2 separate regions of the Homo sapiens genome follow, and region 1 is linked to region 2. Evidence: promoter capture Hi-C in human tissues and cell types (Jung and others, 2019). All regions are on one chromosome and are shown on one strand. Each heading gives the region's core, a stretch centred on a gene start or on the middle of the fragment in contact. The rest is flanking DNA. Distances are from core to core; before and after follow the strand shown. Region 1 has its middle 120 kb from the start of BET1. Region 2 holds the start of TFPI2 (tissue factor pathway inhibitor 2).

What was found. The method cuts DNA at HindIII sites, captures the fragments that hold promoters and counts their contacts. A contact is called where the count stands out against the background at its distance.
Region 1: a contact is called between a fragment that was not itself captured here and the fragment with the promoter of TFPI2 in region 2, in 1 of the 25 tissues and cell types used here (H1 embryonic stem cells).

Annotation. Positions count from the first base shown.
Region 1 is chr7:94,124,449-94,128,263 of GRCh38, reverse strand. No RefSeq gene overlaps it. Among named protein-coding and RNA genes, the nearest start is that of BET1, 120 kb to the right of the region's middle. The HindIII fragment of the contact is 3,985 bases long and covers 1-3,771 here.
Region 2 is chr7:93,889,137-93,892,895 of GRCh38, reverse strand. TFPI2 (tissue factor pathway inhibitor 2) reads left to right here and starts at 2,143. Exons shown (of 5, transcript NM_006528.4): 1 at 2,143-2,305; 2 at 2,577-2,759; 3 at 3,673-3,759. The coding sequence starts at 2,218. TFPI2-DT (TFPI2 divergent transcript) reads right to left here and starts at 2,002. Exons shown (of 2, transcript NR_134235.1): 1 at 1,817-2,002. The HindIII fragment of the contact is 8,158 bases long and covers 1-3,759 here.

The sequences.
Region 1 (3,815 bases), core at 530-3,029, 240 kb before region 2:
ATCACATATTTAATGGCAATTGGGATTAGACAACTGACTTTCCTGGCTCTGAGTCAGAATCCTTTCTGTAATAACAAACAGGTGTTTTTCTATCATCTACCATCACAGCTGTACCTACATCTCCATCTCTAAAGAGGAATGTGCTAGTGACATCAAGGTGGCAGTCACCTCCATAAGCCTATGTGCATGCATAAATAAATCCTCATGTGCCCAGAGCCTTTCCTTGAAGAAGCCTGATAAGCATCGACTATTCATTCTTATGTTTTTTTTTTTTTTTTTTTTTTTTGAGATGGAGTTTCACTCTCGTTGCCCGGGCTGGAGTGCAATGGCGCGACCTCTGCTCACCGCAACCTCTGTCTCCTAGGTTCAAGCAATTCTCCTGCTTCAGCCTCCCGAGTAGCTGGGATTACAAGCATGTGCCACTACGCCCGGCTAATTTTGTATTTTTAGTAGAGACAGGGTTTCTCCATGCTGGTCAGGCTGGTGTCGAACTCCCGACCTCAGGTGATCCGCCCACCTCAGCCTCCCAAAGTGCTGGGATTACAGGCATGAGCCACTGCGCCCAGCCCACTCTTTTTTTCCTTGAAAACTGGCCCGGCCCAGTTTTTTCCTTGAAAACTGTTCCATGGGTCACAGCACCATGATGTCAGATCATATAAGTTAGGTTCTTATGTCAATTACAGCTTTGGGGCTTGTGTTTGATAGGTAACATGAGACTCCATCTTCATTCAAAAGTACCTGGGTGCCTAACTGCTTCCCACCTTCTCAATGTAAATGGCTCAGAGGAAAGGGTTCTGCTGTAATATACGCTGATGTTTATAGACAGGCTGGAGAGCTCTTACAATAGGCACTCTCAACCTAAGGTCATTGGATGGATGTACTTTGGGGAGTCTATAAAACTACTGAAATTATACCTGGAATCTCCAAGTATGTGCATGTGGTTATTTTTCTGGAGAAAGGATCCATAAACTCATCAGATGCTCAAAGGGATCTGTGACTCAAATAGGTTTAATTAAGAACAACTGCTTTCTGTTTTATTCTTTTGAGCATTTAGCAGAACAAATGCCAAAAATCTGTAGCTTTACAGCAAAAGGGAAAATCCTAGGAATGCTGTTAGCAAGTTGAGTTTTCTAACATGTGAAACCATTACTACTACCTCCTAAGGGAGAATATGAGAATGATGTCCATAAGGATTAAGCTGATATAAGATAGACATGTACAAGTGTGCAAATTATGTTAATATAGATATGTTTCATAAAAAAGGCATATGTCTAGCCAAATGTCCTGGGATTTTGCTTTCAGCTGAGATTCTAACTCTGCCTTTACATCATAGAATTAAACACGGTTATAAAATAGTCCTTTGTTTTAAAGATTGAATTTAGGTTATTGTGTCTACAAGTCCTCCTCACAAATATGTAAGGTACATGAACAAGAAAAATTTTCTTTTGTGGCAGTATAGGAAAATTTTGAAAACAATGTAGGACATGTAAATAAATTATAGTTAATTGTTAATTATTTTTTCCAGTACACAATGCTAAAAGCTGTATATTATATATGAACTCAATACTGTAAAATGTGTGTGGTGGATAAGACAGTGAATATGCTCAGGAATTGTCCAGAGGAGGGCTGTACTTAAACAGATTGAAAGTGGGGAAATAAATAGAAAATGATAGATAAGTGAAAAGGAACACAGATTTAGGGGAAGGACTGATATTCCCTGTAACACCCACTTTGCAACTAGTTAGTTTCCAATTAGTGTTAGGGGATATATGCTACATTTTCTATGGAGGAAAAGCTTAAAATGATGGCATGGCCAAGTATTCCCAGTGCCTGGTTTGATACCTGACACATACTCCATAAATATTTGTTCAATAAAAAAATTGCTCTTTAGGGGGCTACATCACTGTGAGCCACATTCCTTCCAACTGCATTTTGAAAATTATACCATTTCCAGTAACAAAAAAGGTGACCTGTACTTGACTCCTCAGTCATGCAAAGGTGAAACCCAGTAGAAGGTCTGGCATGGTGGGCTGGCTTGCACAGTACAGGATCTCTTAAATCATCATTATCTCAAAAATTTATTTGAATGTGTGAAATTAATATTTTCTCCAACAGACCTTCCCTTATCTGATCATTAAATGATCATACATGACATTTATTGAAAACTCATTCCATGTCAGCCACTGTCCTAAGTATCCTGCATGCAAAATCTCAGGCTCCACTCTAGCTCTTGGAGTCAGGATCCACAGGTTTACCAGATTCCCAGGCCATTCGGATGCATACTGATGTTTGAGAAGCAGTGAATTCATTCATTTAATTCTTGCAACAGCCATTTGAGGTGGTGCTATTATTATTTCCATTTTAAAGAGGGGGAAATAAAGGCACTAAGTTGAGTTACATACGTAAGGACACTCAGACAGCAAAGGGTGGAGCCAAGATTCAGACCCAGAGAGGCTGACATGGTATCTGTGATCTTCACCACCTTACTACTTTTCTGTTTGATAGCACTACCACCAGCAGCAATCCCAAATCCATAACAGTTATCATAGTAAAAGTAATGACACCTTTGAGCAGGAAGATTAAATGGAATCTGGGGAGTTCTGCAAAGAGGAAGTCTGCTGTAGCACAAAGGACACAGGATTTGGAACAAGTGAGATCTGAGTTTTGCCTCTTATTACCAGCGTGATCTTGTACTAGTAATGTATCCTATCAATTAGTTTCCTCATCCGTTAAACTGGGCTACAATTTCCCAAGTTGTTGTAAGAATTGATGATAACATATTCAATCTACCTTGAAAACTATCTGGAACTCAGTAAGTGGTGATGCTTATCCTTACTGGAAAGGGATCTGCAATTATATGTTTGTCATAAGTAGCTTGAAATATTTATTTGAACATTAGAATAGTTACAGATCATCGTGAGCAAATATTCAAACAAAACTTGTGCTTTTTCCCTCGTTATTTGAACCAGAAGAAAAGCTATTTTAAAAAACTTTGCCAGCTTTGGTAATTATTAAAGAGTTAACTTAGTCATTTAGAAGGAGTAGGTTAGGTACAACAAAGGACAAGTCATTTTGCAGGCATAGGTCCACTACAATAAAGTACTGAAGGAGAGAAACTTCTGGAATTCTCTATCAGTCTCAAGATGTATCTGATCCTTAGGCTTTGTCTTTATTTTCTAGGAGCTCTTTGGGATATCTTTGGGAATAACACTGTAGGCAGACCCAGAATTGTTCTGGGACATCACCAGTATTAGTTCCACATCTGACAGATAGAGGAGAACAGATGCAATTTCCTTGGAACTTTAGAGAGGTAGAAAGGAGAGTAGGCTGTCCTCCTTTTCCTTTTGGTCTCTGATTTCTCACAAAAGATGTTAAACTTATCCACTGAACTTTGGGTTTTCAAATTTGGTTATAAACGATTTCCTTATGTGCTGATCATGAGTATAATTGAAACAGTGAGGTAGGGGTTGTACCTAAAATCACAGAACCACTTCTCTTCTGGCTCTTCTGGTGTCTGTGAAGATTCATGGTCAGGCTAGGTATAGGGGAAGAACAGAAAAATAAGCTCTTAGCTACCTAAGGAAAGGGAGCCTTGGCCATTAATTCAGTTATCAAAGCCCTGGCAGCATGTTAACACAATTGGCCCACTCTAAAGCATACAATCTATTTTTCTTTATCTCACAACTGTTTCCTCAGTACTATTAGGTTCTTACACAAAGGTTTTCTGAGAAGTAAAGCAATTATATTAATGTTGTCAATCATTACTGCCAGGCTGATCAATAAAAACAATGTTAACCCTACTAATTAATTGCTAG
Region 2 (3,759 bases), core at 894-3,393:
CATTCAGTGATTCTGCAGTGGCAGCTTGAAATTGACCTTAGTGAGCACATTTACATCACAGAAATCAGTTAACTATACAAAGCATCCCCATCCCATTTATTTTTCCCTACTGGAGAGGTGATAATTAAACATTTATCCTTATAGTTTCAACTATCATTCTTAATCATAGACATCTGCTAATCAAAGCTGACAGCATTTCCAGATCAGGCTGGTTTTCCTAGGACTGTGACCTTGTAACATGACATCAGAATGACTGAAAACTGGCACAAGGATATAATGTGCAAAATACCTCAGATTATTAACCCACTTTGAGCAAGTGTGTCCTATACTTTTCAGGGCTTCCTGAAAACTTGAAAGAGAACTTCTGTAAACTACCCCCAGTATCCTCAGAAGTCAAGAATAATTATTTACTTGAGAATGTTGAATACAACAAGAGAAAAGGGGAAGGGAAGACAAGTATATTAAAATGTCTTCAAAAATATCTTTAATATTTTATGTAAAATTTCACTGTAGGTAATTGTTTGTATTAAAAAAAAAAGTGGATCACAAGCTAATATGTCAAAGGAACAGGGAACTTTAATGGATGCACTGACATTAGGAAATGTGTGGGAATACACTGATCTGGTCAAATCTTCAGAACTCCCCAAGGCTATCTCTCTGGGCTGCTATGGTTCTTCTCCAAAAACATAGATACATACAAAAACATAGCTTCATACATGCTTGGTTGGGGTGTAAAATGGTACAATCATCTTGAAAAAATCCTTTGGCAGTGTCTAACATTTCTAAGTATTTTATCCAAGAGTAATAAAAATTGCAGGTCCACACAAAGCAGCTTTTTTCATAAGAGCCCCCAAACAAACTAGAAACAACACAAATTCCAGTAATAAGACATTTGTGATATATTAGAATATTACTCAATGATTTAAAGGAACAGACTATTGATACACACAGCAACATATTTATACATTGTGGGATATTCATACGTTTTGGTAAATTCATACCTTGGACTACGCAGGAATTAAAAGAAACAGACTATTGATGCAGTGACCTGGGCGTATCTCAAAAACAGGAAGTGTGAGAAAGAAATACTACACAGTGAATACTTTATAATTCCGTTTATATGAAATTCAAGAATAGGCAAATCTAATCTATGGTAATCGAAATGAGAAGAGTGTTTGCCCCTGGCCTAAGGATGGAAGGATTGATTTAGGAAAAAGTCTGCAGGAGCTTTCTGGAGTGATGGAAATGTTCTAACTCTTTTTTTTTTCTTCTTCTTCTTCTTTTTCTTCGTTTCGAGACGGAGTTCCACTCTGCCGCCCAGACTGGAGTGCAGTGGCGCCATCTGGGCTCACTGCAGCCTCCGCCTCCTGGGTTCAAGCCATTCTCCTGCCTCAGCCTCCCGAGGGGCTGGGACTACAGGTGCCCGCCACCACGCCCGGCTAATTTTTTGTGTTTTTAATAGAGACGGGGTTTCGCCATGTTGGCCAGGCTAGTCTCGAACTCCTGATTTCAGGTGATCCACCCGCCTTGGCCTCCCAAAGTGCTGGGATTACAGGCGCGAGCTACCGCGCCCAGCCAAAATGTTCTAATTCTTTATTGGTGGCTACACAGTTGTCAAAATTTATCAAACTGTCCACCTACGATATATTATAAGCCTGTATTAAATGTAAATTAGAACTCGATTGAAATCTGTGTGTATAAATATAAATATACACTTATTTACATTTCTAATCTAATCTGAAGGTCCATTGCAACGAATCCCGCTCCGCTCTGACCCAAGAACTCCGCACTTTCTCTCCACCAGCCTTTCAAATACCTGAACTTCATGCCTTCAAGAGGTGGATTCCGGCTTCTTTACAGCGCAATCACTAGCAGGTCATTTCCGTCTAGCTTGCAGATTTCCCATTACTGACACAAACGCTCCCTCAGGGCGTCCCCGTCTGGACTACAGGAGAAAGTTTGGGAGGCAGGTTCAACTTTTCAACTTGGCGGGGAATTCCTCTCCCTCTTACACAGTTTGCAGCGCGGGGGCGGCGGGGTGACAGTCCCCGTGCATGAATCAGCCACCCCTCAGGCTCCGCCCCGGCGGGGGTCGGCCGGACGCTCGCCCCGCATAAAGCGGGCACCCGGGCCGCCTGGAGCAGAAAGCCGCGCACCTCCTCCCGCCAGGCGCTTTCTCGGACGCCTTGCCCAGCGGGCCGCCCGACCCCCTGCACCATGGACCCCGCTCGCCCCCTGGGGCTGTCGATTCTGCTGCTTTTCCTGACGGAGGCTGCACTGGGCGATGCTGCTCAGGAGCCAACAGGTATCTGGCCGCTCCAGGAGCTTCTCTCCCCAACCGGCGGAGAGGGCGCAGCGGGCCATGGGGCCCCGTGTAGGCGCCCTCCAAGCCTCGCTTTCTCCAGGTCCCTGCCGCGCGCTCCGCTGGCAGGGGGGACTCGCTCCCAAGTTTGCACTTTCTCTGCAGAGGCCCCTCCGCTCGGAAGGGGACAGAACTCCCCGGGATGTTCTTTCCTCCTAGGAGCTACGCCTGACCACTTTCCCTCTCTTTTGCTCTCCTTCTGCCCCTTCTTCAGGAAATAACGCGGAGATCTGTCTCCTGCCCCTAGACTACGGACCCTGCCGGGCCCTACTTCTCCGTTACTACTACGACAGGTACACGCAGAGCTGCCGCCAGTTCCTGTACGGGGGCTGCGAGGGCAACGCCAACAATTTCTACACCTGGGAGGCTTGCGACGATGCTTGCTGGAGGATAGAAAGTAAGTGCCCTGCGCGCACCCAGGACTCTCGCGCTCCTTGCGCCGGCGGCTGGTAGCAGCTTCGCCAGTTTCCCACGTCTCGCTTTCTACAGGAAGTTTTAGCCTGGGTTTTCTCAAGTGTTAAGCAAACCTCATGGTTTTCAGTTTCTTAAAAGTAATCACAAATTTACAACCACTAACACATTTCCTGTCTCCCAACTGACATTGATCATAATTCAGTGCCTGTGCGGACTCAGGGAAAGATTTGTTCCCTCACCATGGGGTATAATAAATGCAAGAGAATAACGTGTTAGGTACAACGTAAGTGCTTCTCTGTATTTTTCATTAATTCCAAACCTATGATTTTTATCTCTCCTGGAGTACATCATTTCCTTCTGTCGATTATCCATCAATCTGAAATATTTTTAGTGGATTTTATTATTGAAGTGTGACTTAGCTCATTATATAACTCTACTTTTGTCCCGATACCCAAACATGTGTTGGATTAGTTGCGGGACATGGTGGAGATTCATAATACTGTTATATTTTAATTTATTTTTAATTTTTAAATTATATCGGTTAAGGCCTGTAAGAGAACATGGGGCTTTTCCATTCAAGGAACTGAGCCAGGGGAAAATGCGTATTCATGTGAATAAGCTTTGATTCACTGCATATGTACAATCAGAGAACACCCAGAGAAAACAGAGAGTCTTTCTACTGAACTTGAAAGATACATCACAGCTGAGTCAGCTCTGAATACACTGTTAGAAAAAAAAAAAGTAAATATCTGGATTCATGGGAGTATTCTGGGTATTTACTATCCCAACACTAATACAACTTCTCTCCCCCCACAAAATGTTGCTGAAAATACAGTGATGGTTTAATAAGAAGGCTACTTTTGACTAACATTGTTCTATTACCCTCCTTTTCCTAGAAGTTCCCAAAGTTTGCCGGCTGCAAGTGAGTGTGGACGACCAGTGTGAGGGGTCCACAGAAAAGTATTTCTTTAATCTAAGTTCCA